Regions from separate parts of the Homo sapiens genome. Here region 2 is linked to region 1. The links are contacts of gene promoters, found by promoter capture Hi-C in blood cells and fetal thymus (Javierre and others, 2016). All regions are on one chromosome and are shown on one strand. The core of a region is centred on a gene start or on the middle of the fragment in contact, and the rest is flanking DNA. Distances in the headings are between cores, read along the strand shown.

Evidence for each region. Contacts are between HindIII fragments. The CHiCAGO score rates a contact against its expected background, and 5 or more counts as called.
Region 2: a contact is called between the fragment with the promoter of KAT8 here and the fragment with the promoter of ITGAX in region 1, in 2 of 17 cell types (monocytes and neutrophils). The highest score is 9.3, in monocytes.

What each region holds. Positions count from the first base shown.
Region 1 is chr16:31,353,916-31,359,763 of GRCh38, reverse strand. It overlaps ITGAX (integrin subunit alpha X), which reads right to left and starts at 4,588. Exons shown (of 30, transcript NM_000887.5): 1 at 4,473-4,588; 2 at 3,766-3,871; 3 at 3,036-3,139; 4 at 2,663-2,733; 5 at 2,400-2,511; 6 at 1-64. The coding sequence starts at 4,509. RefSeq lists enhancers at 4,817-5,006, 5,197-5,326. The HindIII fragment of the contact is 18,983 bases long and covers 1-5,848 here.
Region 2 is chr16:31,113,644-31,119,491 of GRCh38, reverse strand. It overlaps KAT8 (lysine acetyltransferase 8), which reads right to left and starts at 1,828. Exons shown (of 11, transcript NM_032188.3): 1 at 1,600-1,828. The coding sequence starts at 1,810. It also overlaps a transcript of BCKDK not described here. RefSeq lists an enhancer at 1,245-1,364 and silencers at 1,535-1,884, 1,784-2,010. The HindIII fragment of the contact is 10,033 bases long and covers 1-5,848 here.

The DNA of each region.
Region 1 (5,848 bases), core at 3,339-5,838:
CGGGAGGAGATGCTGCCTGAGCCATCGATCAGGAACACAATGTCCTGCTCCTGTCTTGGGCACTCTGGGGAAGGAGGTGGCACCGGTCCTCCAAGTGACACTCCTGGAGTCCAGGACCGTGGCCTCCTGGCCACAAGAGCTCACTCTCCCAAAACCCTTCCTCCCCTAAGCCCCTAGTCTGGCGATGGGAGTCAGGCTCCACACCCTGGGTCCTCTCCTCATCAGGGGCAGAGCTTCCCTAACCCCTTGCCTGGAACAAGGCCCTTCATTCTCTTAAAGTTGCCTAAAGAGGCTGTGATGAGCCAGGCGTGGTGGCTCACGCCTGTAATCCCAGTACTTTGGGAGGCCGAGGGGGGCGGATCACGAGGTCAGGAGATCGAGACCATCCTGGCCCACATGGTGAAACCCCGTCTCTACTAAAAATACAAAAATTAGGTGGGTGTGGTGGCACGCGCCTGTGGTCCCAACTACTTGGGAGGCAGAGGCAGAATTGCTTGAACCTGGGAGGTGGAGGTTGCAGTGAGCTGAGATCGCACCACAGCACTCCAACCTGGCAACAGAGTGAGGCTCCATCTCAAAAAAATAAAAAATGAAAAAGGCTGTGATGAAGCTGCTCAGCCCCATCAACAAAAGAGTGAAGGTCAGACTGGGTGCAGTGACTTACTCCTATAATCCAAGCACTTTGGGAGGCCTAGGCAGGAGAATTGCTTGAGCCCAGGATTTCAAGATCAGCCTGGACAGCATAGTTAGACCTCACATCTACTAAAAATTGTTAAAAATCAGCTGGGCATGGTAGCTCTTCTCTGTGGTCCCAGCTACTCTGGAGGCTGAGGTGGGAGGATCACTTGAGCCCAGGAGTTGGAGGCTGCAGTGAGCTGTGATTGTACCACTGCACTCCAGCCTCAGTGACAGAGTAAGACTATCTCTAAAAAAAAAGAAAAAAAAAAAAACCAGGAAGATTTCTCCAATTCAGACGGTAGGAAGCAGAGGGCCTACCCCTCCACCACCCTGGATATCTGTGCCCCTCCCTGGACCCACCCCTCCTTCCTCCCTCAATGTCACCCCATCCAGCAATGACACAAACTGGCACCAGTCCCTAGCCAGTGTTTGTCCTCACTGCTCAGTGCTGAATGGTAGTTTTGTTAAATTTCTTTTTTTAATTGAGATGGAGTCTCACTCTGTCACCCAGGCTGGAGTGCAGTGGTGTGATCAAAGCTCCCTACAGCCTCCAACTCCTGGGCTCAAGCGATTCTCCTGCCTCAGCCTCCCCAGTAGTTAGGACTAGAGGTATGTAACAGCATGCCAAGCTACTTTGTATTTTATATTTATTTTTTGTAGAGATGAGGTCTCACTATGTTGCCCAGGCTGGTCTCAAACTCCAGGCCTCAAACAACCCTCTTGCCTTGATTGTTAATATTTTAAACAAATCATCCCAGGCAACAGCCACACACTGGGCCTGTTCTGTTCTCAGCTTAAATACAGGCCCCCACTCCCCTCCTGTGTGAAGTTAGCATCTGTCCTGAGAAGAGACGATCTTCCAGCACCTGGAGAGGAAACCCCCTTCCATGTGACCTCTCAAGCATCCCCTCTGCCCCAGAGGCCTCCACCGGAGAGACAGGTGTCCTGGGCATTCTGATGGGTGCCCAGGCCCCTGTGGATGGAGTCTGGACCCACGGAGGTGCTGGAAGGCACACCCTATTTGCAGCCAGATGTCAGTCTCACCAAAGGCTTGAGAGCAAATGTGAAACCAGGGGGAGGCCTCAGCCTGCCAAAGCCCACTGTTTTGCTTCCTTATCTTTCTTCCCCATCAGCACCAGGGAAGTCAGGCCCTGCGTCTCAACCTGCATGTGCACACGCACACACACATACATGCACACACATGCATGTACATGTGTGCATGTGCACATGTATACACATGCATACATATACACACATGTACACACACACACGTTGCTCACACTGCACTTTCACTGACCTTTCCTAAACTACGGCACAAACCAATTGGTCATATCCCAGGACCCATTGGATGAAAATAGATCCTCTCCTCTAAAAATAACAACAGCTGGCCTTCATGGGGCTGTCGCCTGGTGCTAGCTGCTGTGCTAACCCCTGGCCATGAATCATCCTGTGTTGCTTTCAGTGCTGGGTGTGTTATTATCCCCATCCAACAGATGAAGAAACTGAGGCTTGGAGAGGTTAAGGTCACAGGAAAGGTCCGGCAGCGTGCGGGCGATCGGCAGGATGTGCGGGCAGCAGCGTCAGGAACCACTGCAACACGTGGTAACTCTTTTTCCAGATCCCTTCTTTCTGATCCACTCTGGCAAGACTGTCTCTAGCCCACCGCACCCCCAATTGGATGTGCGTGAGCTCCTCAAAGCCTTGGTGGTCCCGACACTCACCCTGCCTGGACACCGGGAGCCTCTGGGTGAGCTGGGTGGGGCCCAGGAGGAAGCAGAGTCCGGTGAGGTACATGTTCCTCCCGCACTCGTGGTGCACGGTGGGGCCGCAGGCCTGGGGACACAGCGGGCTGCTGGGGGGCTGCCCCTGCTTCCTCCCACCCTCACATTCCGGAACCTCCACCCTACAGGAGACTCCCAGCCCCCCGCGGCCCCGGCTCCTCCCTCCCTCCCTCAGAAGCCTCCTGTGACCCAGGGCCACTCACCAGCAGCTGGGAAGGGCTGGTGGTAGACGCCAGGGACAGGCCCAGGGACATGTTCACGGCCTCCGGGGGCACTGTGGGGACAGATATGTGCATGGTCACTCTCGGGGGTACAGAGAAGGCTGTGGAAGAGCTGGGCAGGGGTCACCTCCACCTGGGAGACAAGGAGGTCTGACGGTGAAGGAAGCTGTCGGGTCTTGACAGAGCTGCGGGAGTGCGATGGGCGGGGAGGCCTTAAGGGGCCAGGAAGCATATCTGAGGGTGAGGGTCTCAGACACAGTGGAAGCTGAAAGTGACACTCCGGTGAGTCCACGGGCCCCTGGAGCAGGGAAGCCTGGGAGCCCGGCCCTGGGTCCCGGGAGGGGCGGTGACTCACCCTGCAGGCCGATGGGCTCACAGGCACCAGTGCTGTAGCCACACTGGTAGAGGCCACCCGTTTGGTTGGCAGCTGTTATCTTTTGGGGGGCTCCAACCACCACCCTGCGAGGAGACAAAGAACACTTTAGGTAAGAGTGTGGACGCTGCAGCACAGCTGCCACTCCGGCAAGTTTGCGTTCCCTCCCTGAGCCTCAGCTTCCTCATCTGCAAGATGGATTTTAATAATTTAAAGTCCATGTGGAAGGGATTTCTGTCTGTTGGATTCTCTGGCGTATGGAGACAAGAAATATTTGTTGAGTCTGGGTGTGGTGGCTCACACCTGGAATCCCAGCACTTTGGGAGGCTGAGGCGGGAGGATTGCTTGAGCCCAGGAGTTTGAGACCAACCCAGGCAACATAGTGAGACCCTGTCTCTATATATTTTTAAATGTATAGAAAAAAAGAAAGAAAAAACAAATAAGTGTTTGTTGCACGACTGATTCCTACTCACAGGCTGTCGTGTGGACTAAATCAGCATCCACCTGTGATGAGCCTGGCACTGCACTTACTGCTCTGTAAATGTTAGCTGTGAGACCGTGCCTGCCTTCAAGGCAAATCTTCATTAGCCAGGGCAGTCGCTACACCAGACAGAGAGGAGAGTTTGCAAATAACAGGGCAGGGCCGGGGGCATGGGGCCCTGAGCAGGGAGAGGATGGATGGAGCCAAAGGCCAGCACCACCTGGGCCTCACCAGGAGTTGGCATACTGGACCACGCTGTCTCCAAACCCAGCGCTGTCCACACGGAAGGCTGTCAGCTCCTCTGTGTCCAAGTTGAAACCTAGAGAAGTTGCTAAGGCTGGGAAAGAGGTGGGAAGAGAGCTTTGGAGAAGGGTCTTCCTTCTGCCTGGCTGCCCTCCACCCCCGGCCCCAGCGTCCCAATCTCCCCTCCGAGCCTGATGCCCGGGGTGCCTGGGTCTTCTGGACACCCAACTCATCCCCTTCTCTCCTTCCCAGGGTCCAGGGATGCCCCTTGCCCACCATCCACTATCGAGTTGCAGTTCTCCATTTCTGCAGAGCAGTACCCAGGCTCTAAAAAGGATCTTTCCCCAACGTGCACCTCGGGCGCTATGAGAGTGAGTCCAGGAAAACTTGCGGACCAAAGCATCCTGTCCACAGAGCACAAGTTGGCGCATTCTGCCTATTTTAAAAATCTCTGCAGTACAGAGACAACTGGCCTCTCTTCCAGCATCTCTGGAACTCTCCCAAAATTGGTTCATCAATATCCTCTCCCTCCACAAACTCCAAATCTCAGACCCTATGTGCCTGCCTCCCCCTCAGGCTTGACTGAGTCTCTCTTCCTACCCAGATCCTAACCCCCCAGCCTGAGCCCCCAGTTCAGGGCCCTGGCTCCCTTGGGCCTGGGTCCCCAGCCCTACTTCATTGGGGTCCAGGCTCACCTGTGAACAGGAGGAGTGCTGCCCTGGTCCTGGTCATGACTAGAAGGTCAGATGTGGAGCTCTGAGCTCCTGGGCCGTTGCAGGAAGAGCTGGACCAAGGTACTGAGGAAGCAAGTGGGCAGAGAGGTGGCCAGGGGAAGGAAGAAGATTGTCAGCATGAGTCAGAGGGGGCGGGCAGAGTACGCAACTGATCCGAGGACAGGCTCGGCCTCCCACACGCCCCCACCCCCCAACCGGAGTCACTCTCATCAGATGACTTGGCTTGATGCCCTTTGCTTAGATGGATGCAAATCCCTGCCCTGCCCCTCCCAGGCTCACCCTTGACTGCCAGAAGGCACCCCTTGACCTTGAAATTTCAGCCAGACTGGAGGGGGTTTGGGCAGATGCCAACCCCTCAGGACCCTAAAGGAAACCCTGGTGGGAGCCCTCCACTCTGACCTGGAAAGTCTGGGCCAAGGAGTGGGGCATCCGGGTCCCTAGGAGGAGCACAGAGCGAGTATTTGTTCATTCATTCATTCACTCATTTATTCATCATTTATTCAAGAAGCCTAATTTGAGCCTGGAGATGCAAGCCCTCTGCTAGGTGGGGAAGAAAATATAAACCACAAAGCACCAGCCCTGGGGTCAGTGGAGAGGCAGATGTATAAACAGCAAGTTCATTGCTGTGAGGGGGAAGCACAGAGACCACAGGGTGCCTCACCCGGGTTGTGAAGGTGTGGCTTTCTGAGAAGGCTTCCTGAAAGAGGTGGTGCTTGAGCTGAGCATTGAAAGCAACCAAAGTTGGGAGATGACAGAGCAGCCAGACATGGATGAGGCAGGGGACAGGAGGGTCTGTGTGTGAAATCAGCAATGGGAACCAGACAGTCAGGGTGGGAAGTTGTAAGAGACAAGGTCAGGGCCACTGGGAGGAAAGCAAGGGGAAGCAGGCCTCAGGCCGTGGAAGCCCCCCTAATGTACATCAATTTTTTTTTTTAATTTCAGAAACAGGGTCTTGCTCTGCCACCCAGGCTGGAGTGCAGTGGGTGCATAGTTCACTGCTGCTTCGAACTCCTGGGCCCAAGGGATCCTCCTGCCTCAGCCTCCTGAGTAGCCAGGACTATAGGATTGCACCACTGCACCTGAATATATATATATATTTATATATATATATTTTTTAATTTTAGTAGAGACAGAGTTTCCCCATGTTGGCCAGGCTGGTCTCAAACTCCTGATCTCAATCAATCCTCCTGCCTCAGCCTCCTAAATTGCTGGGATCACAGGTGTGAGCCACCACACCTGGTGAAGACACATTGATTTTGTCCTGAGAGTGGAGGACAGCATTGAAGGGAATTCATGGGGACTGAGATCTTCACATTTTCATTTTAGAAAGTGGGTTA
Region 2 (5,848 bases), core at 579-3,078, 240 kb after region 1:
GCTGGCTCTGGATTAAGATAACCTACATTAATGTATAATTCCAGGGCTGGGCATCGTGGCTCACGCCTGTAATCCCAGCACTTTGGGAGGCCGAGGTGGGTGAATCACGAGGTTAAGAGGTCAAAACCATCCTGGCCAACATGGTGAAACTTCGTCTCTACTAAAAATACAAAAATTAGCTGGGTGTGGTGGCGCACAACTGTAGTCCCAGCTACTCAGGAGGTTGAGGCAGGAGAATCGCTTGAATCCGGGAGGCAGAGATCGCAGTGAGCCAAGATGGCGCCACTGCACTCCAGCCTGGCAACAGAGAGCGATTCCATCTCAAACAAACAAACAAAAAAAAATACACAAAATTCCAGCTCCCTACTTCCTAGCTATGTGTAACTGAGCAAGTTATTCCATCTTTCTGAGCCTCAGTCTCTTCATCTGTGAAAAGGGATAACAGCTGGGCACAGTGGCTCATGCCAGTAATCCCAACACTCTGAGAGGGTGAGGTGGGAGGATCACTTGAGCCTAGAAGGTCTAGGCTTCAGTGAGCTGTCATCGTGCCACGGCAATCCCACCTGGGTGACAGAGCGAGATCCTGTCTCAAAAAAAAAAAAAAAAAAAAAGACAAAAGGGATAATAGTACCAACCTTAGAAGGTGAATTAATGCCTCCAAAATTTTTAGCAGCGCACCTGACAATTAGCAGAGCATTCAATAAATGAGTAAGGCAACCACTACGTGTCTGGCCCTATGCTGTGTTGTTGCCGGGTACAGAGGACACAGTGATGAATCACAAGAAGTGCTGCCCTCCAGAAGTTCCCAGTATGATGGAGGAAGACAGAGAGAGAAAATTACAACATAATGTTACAAAAACTATGACTGAGGTAGGAAAAAAATGTTGCAGGAACATAGAGAAGGGAACCACTCACTTTGCCTGAAGGGGAATCAAGGATGACATCACAAAGGATATGAAGCTAAGAGGATGAGTAGGAGCTAGGCAGGCAAACAAGGAGAAAGGGAAGAAAAAGCATTCCAAGCAAAGGGCACAGGTGGTAAAGGGCGTGTGGTCTTCAGAGGGCACAGTGTGTTCTGGCCTGGCAATGCCCTTTCCTAGTGTTGGCTAGAAACTGGAGAGGTCACAAAAATGAATGCCACCCTAAGGAGTTTGGGGTTAATTTTGAAAATGAGAGAAGGCAGCAGAACTTTAGGAAAGGGAAGCCTGTTGTTTCTGGAAGGTCTTCTCTCTGCGGATGGCTGCCAGGGACAAATGGAAAAAGAAGACGCAGAGACAAGAGAGGGTGAGGAAGCAGCGTTAGCAAGAAAAAGGAATGAAGCCTAAGACTGGGCAAGGAAGTGGAATGGGAACAATCCTGGTGAAGGCCTGAGCGGTGGGTTTGTAGGCGTCGCTCGGCATAATTCAAGGTCAACAGCCTCCCACAACCCGGCTGGTTTCTCAGCGCCCGGAACGCGGCGTTCTTTCCTCAAGCCCCGCCCCTCCTCCTCTCCACTCCCAGCCCCCGGATCTTGGCCTCACTGACAGCCTGTCCTCAGGCCCCGCCCCACCCCCTGGCCCTGAGCTCCGCCCCGCCCCCAGCCCTGGGCCCCGCCCTCACGCCAGGTGCTATCCGGTCGCCGGCACAGGTACGTTTCTCCGATCTCCACCGTGACTTCCGGCTCGCCGCGCGCCGGGGTCGGCGGAGAGACGCGGCCCGGGGATGGGGCGGTCCCCTCAGCGGCCGCATTCTCCCCGGGCCCGGGCTCGCCCTCCCCCGCGACCCCTGAAGTCCCCGCCGCAACCGCCGCAGCAGCTCCCTGTGCCGCCATCGCGGGAAGGGAAGTGACGCCAGAATCGGACGCCACGCAGTTCTTTTGGCTCCGGGTCAGCAGTGCGTGGGGCGGGCTCCTCAAGGTTTGAGGGCGGGGTCTGTGATGTAGCAGGAGCCGATTGGCTTCTGTGGCCGTCCCCGCGGCCCCGCGAGTTGGATGTTGAGTGTGCGGCAGTCTTGGAGCTCCTGGTTTTCCGTGCGGACCTGTGGCTGCAGCCTATGGGTGAGGAGAGGAGACAGACTTACCTCATGCGATGACTCAACTCAACCTTTTTTTAATTTATTTATTTATTTATTTATTTATTTATTTTGAGACGGAATCATGCTCTGTCGCCCAGGCTGGAGTGCAGAGGCGCGATCTCGGCTCACTGCAACCTCCGCCTCCGGGTTCAAGCGATTCCTCTGCCTCAGCCTCCCGGGTAGCTGGGACTGCAGGCGCGCGCCACCACGCCCATCTAATTTTTGTATTTTTAGTAGAGACGGGGTTTCACCATGTTGTCCAGGATAGTCTTGATCTCTTGACCTCGTGATCTGCCAGCCTCAACCTCCCAAAGTGCTGGGATTATAGGCGTGAGCCACCGTGCCCGGCCAGCTGAACCTTTTTAAAGGCCCTGGTACCTGCGGAAGCCAAGATGTGCCAATTTTCAGCGGGCGCTGCCCCCACTTTAACAGGGCAGAGCCAGAGCGGCCGCCCTGGTGGCCTGGAGCCGCACACTCGCGCTGGCCTAATGTCGCTCCCCGCCCCCCCCCCTTTTTTTTTTTTGAGATGGAGTCTCGCTCTGTCGCCCAGGCTGGAGTGCAGTGACGCGATCTCGGCTCACTGCAGCCTCCGCCTCCCGGGTTCAAGCGATTCTCCTGCCTCAGCCTCCTGAATAGCTGGGATTACAATCGCGCGCCACCACGCCCGGCTATTTTTTGTATTTTTAGTAGAGAGAGGGCTTCACCCTGTTGGCCAGGCTGGTCTCGAACTCCTGACCTCAGGTGATCCGCCCGCCTCGGCCTCCCAAAGTGCTAGGGTTACAGGCGTGAGCCACCGTGCCCAGCCAGTGCCCCATTTTTGAAGGTTGAAGAGACTACTTCCCCTATTTGGGATACAGTTGGTGCGGGGAAAGCAGAACGGGTGTGTCCAGGGACAGGCCATAATTCACCCTCACAGGATAAAGTCTAAAGAAAGGACGAGTTGGGCGGGGCGTGGTGGCTCACGCCTGTAATCTCAGCACTTTGAGAGGCCGAGGCGGGCGGAGATCGAGACCATCCTGGCTAACACCGTGAAACTCCGTCTCTACTAAAAATACAAAATTTAGCCGGGCGTGGTGGCACGCACCTGTAGTCCCAGCTACTCGGGAGGCTGAGGCAGGAGAATCGCTTGAACCCGGGAGGCGGAGGTTGCAGTGAGCCGAGATCCCGCCATTGCACTCCAGCCTGGGGACCAAGAGCCAGACTCCATCTCAAAAAAAATAAAAAGGCCGGGTGCGGTGGTTCACGCCTGTAATCCCAGCACTTTGGGAGGCCTAGGCGGGTGGATCACGAGGTCAGAAGATCGAGACTATTCTGGCTAACACGATGAAACTCCGTCTCTACTAAAAAAAAATACAAAACAATTAGCCGGGCGTGGTGGCGGGCCCCTGTAGTCCCAGCTACTCGGGAGGCTGAGGCAGGAGAATGGTGTGAACCCGGGAGGTGGAGCTTGCAGTGAGCTGAGATCACGCCACTGCACTGAGGGTTCTGTGAGAGTCAGTAAAGGTTAAAGCCATTTATATGTGTATGGTCCAACCATACACAATCGGCCCTCCATATCCGCATGTCCCACCTTTGGAGATTGAACGAAGAGCGGGTTGAAAATACAGTGTTGAGGTATGGTGGCTCACACCTGTAATCTCGCACTTCAGGAATCCAAGCAGGAGGATCGCTTCAGGCCAGGAGTTCAAGACCAGCCTGGGCAGCATAGAGACCTCCTTTCTACTAAAAATTTGGGGGAAAAAAAAAATTAGCTGGGCCTCGGGGCCCGCACCTGTAGTCCCACCTACTCAGGAGGCTGAGGCAGAGGGATCGCTTAAACCCAGGAGGTCGAGGCTGAGTGAGCTATAATCCCTCCACTGCACTCCAGCTTGGGTGACAGAGACCCTGTCTCAAAAAAAAAGGGGGGAAAGAAAAGGAGGCTGGGCGCAGTGGCTCACTCCTGTAATCCCACCACTTTGGGAGGCCGAGGCAGGCAGATCACCTGAGGTCGGGAGTTCGAGACCAGCCTGACCAACATGGAGAAACCCCATCTCTACTAAAAATACAAAATTAGCCAGGCGTGGTGGCCGCATGCCTGTAATCCCAGCTACTCGGGAGGCTGAGGCAGGAGAACCGCTTGAACCTGGGAGGCAGAGGTTGTGGTGAGCTGAGATTGTGCCATTGCACTCCAGCCTGGGCAACAAGAGTGAAACTCTGCCTCAAAAAAAAAAAAAAAAAGACTGGGCGCGGTGGCTCACACCTGTAATCCCAGCACTTTGGGAGGCCGAAGCAGGTGGATTACTTGAGGTCAGGAGTTCAAAACCAGCTTGGCCCACATTGTGAAACCCCGTCTCTACTGAAAATACAAAACAGTCAGGGGTGGTGGCGTGTGCCTGTAATCCCAGCTACTTGGGAGGCTGAGGCAGGAGAACTGCTTGAACCCAGGAGGTGGAGGTTGCAGTGAGCCGAGATCGCGCCACTGCACTCCAACCTGGCCGACACAACAAGACTCCATCTCAAAAAAGAAAAAGAAAAAAGAGGGAGGAAGGGAGGAAAAGAAAAGGAAAGGAAAGGAAATATTGTAAGGATGCAGAACCCACAGATCTGAAGAGCTGACTTCATATCTGCTGTTTGGCAGGGCCAACTGTAGGACTTGAGCGCCTGCAGATTTCGGTATTCACAGGCGGTCCTGGAACCAATCCCCAGCAGTTAAGCATGTATAACTATCAATCATATAACTATGTAACGGTTGAACTATCCGTCTTAGCAATATACAAGTGTATTGCAAAGTGCCAGACCGGGTAGGTACTCAGTAAACATTCCCTTTGGCTATTCTCTGAATCTTGTTTGATTTATAATGTGGTTATTGGGCTTGGAAACAATTCTGAGAGGAGTGGAATGCTCAGGGCCTGCGGATGGGTCTCTCAGAGGTTACAAATCAAGAAACATCCGACAGGCATGGTGGCTCATGCCTGTAATCCTGGCACTTTGGGAGGCTGAGGTGGATGGATCACGAGGTTGGGAGTTCGAGACCAGCCTGGCCAACGTGGTGAAACCCCATCTCTACTAAAAATAGAAAAATTAGCTGGGTGTGGTGGCACGCGCCTGTAATCCCAGCTACTCGGGAGGCTGAGGCAGGAGAATCGCTTGAACCTGGGGTTGGGGGGGGGTGGGGCGGAGGTTGCAGTGAGCGAAGATCCAGCCACTGCACTCCAGCCTGAGCAACAGATTGAGACTCCGTTTAAAAAAACAAAACGAAACAAAACAAACAAAAAAACAATGTAGGTGCTCCACCCAGATCCTCTGGGAGTTCTTGCTGTTTCTGTGTGCCCAGATTACCTTTGATGTGCTTTCAAAGACCCACACCAGCACCTGAGGCTCTTCTTAAAAAACCATCCTTAGGTTAATAGAGCTGTTCACTTTCCCAACTGACTTTAACCAGTGACTGCCAAGTGGAGAAATTAATCAGTAACTCTGAGGTTTAGCTCTCTTACCTTCAACCCTGAGGCATAATTGACTGGTTCTGGGCTTTTGCCTGAGGTCACATCCTTGCTTGGCTTCCTCCCCTTCCCCTTCCTACTTCCCCTACTCTGTTCTGGGAGCACTTTCTTAAGAAATCACGTGGACATGAATCCTCTCAGGGACTCCAACCAGAAACATCCCTTCCCAGCTCAAAACCCACTCATGGGCCAGCTGCAGTGGCTCATGCCTGTAACCCCACCACTTTGGGAGGCTGGGGTGGAAGGATCATTTGAGCCCAGAAGTTCAAGTCCAGCCCGGGGCAACATAGGGCTTTGTAGAAACCCTGTTTCTACAA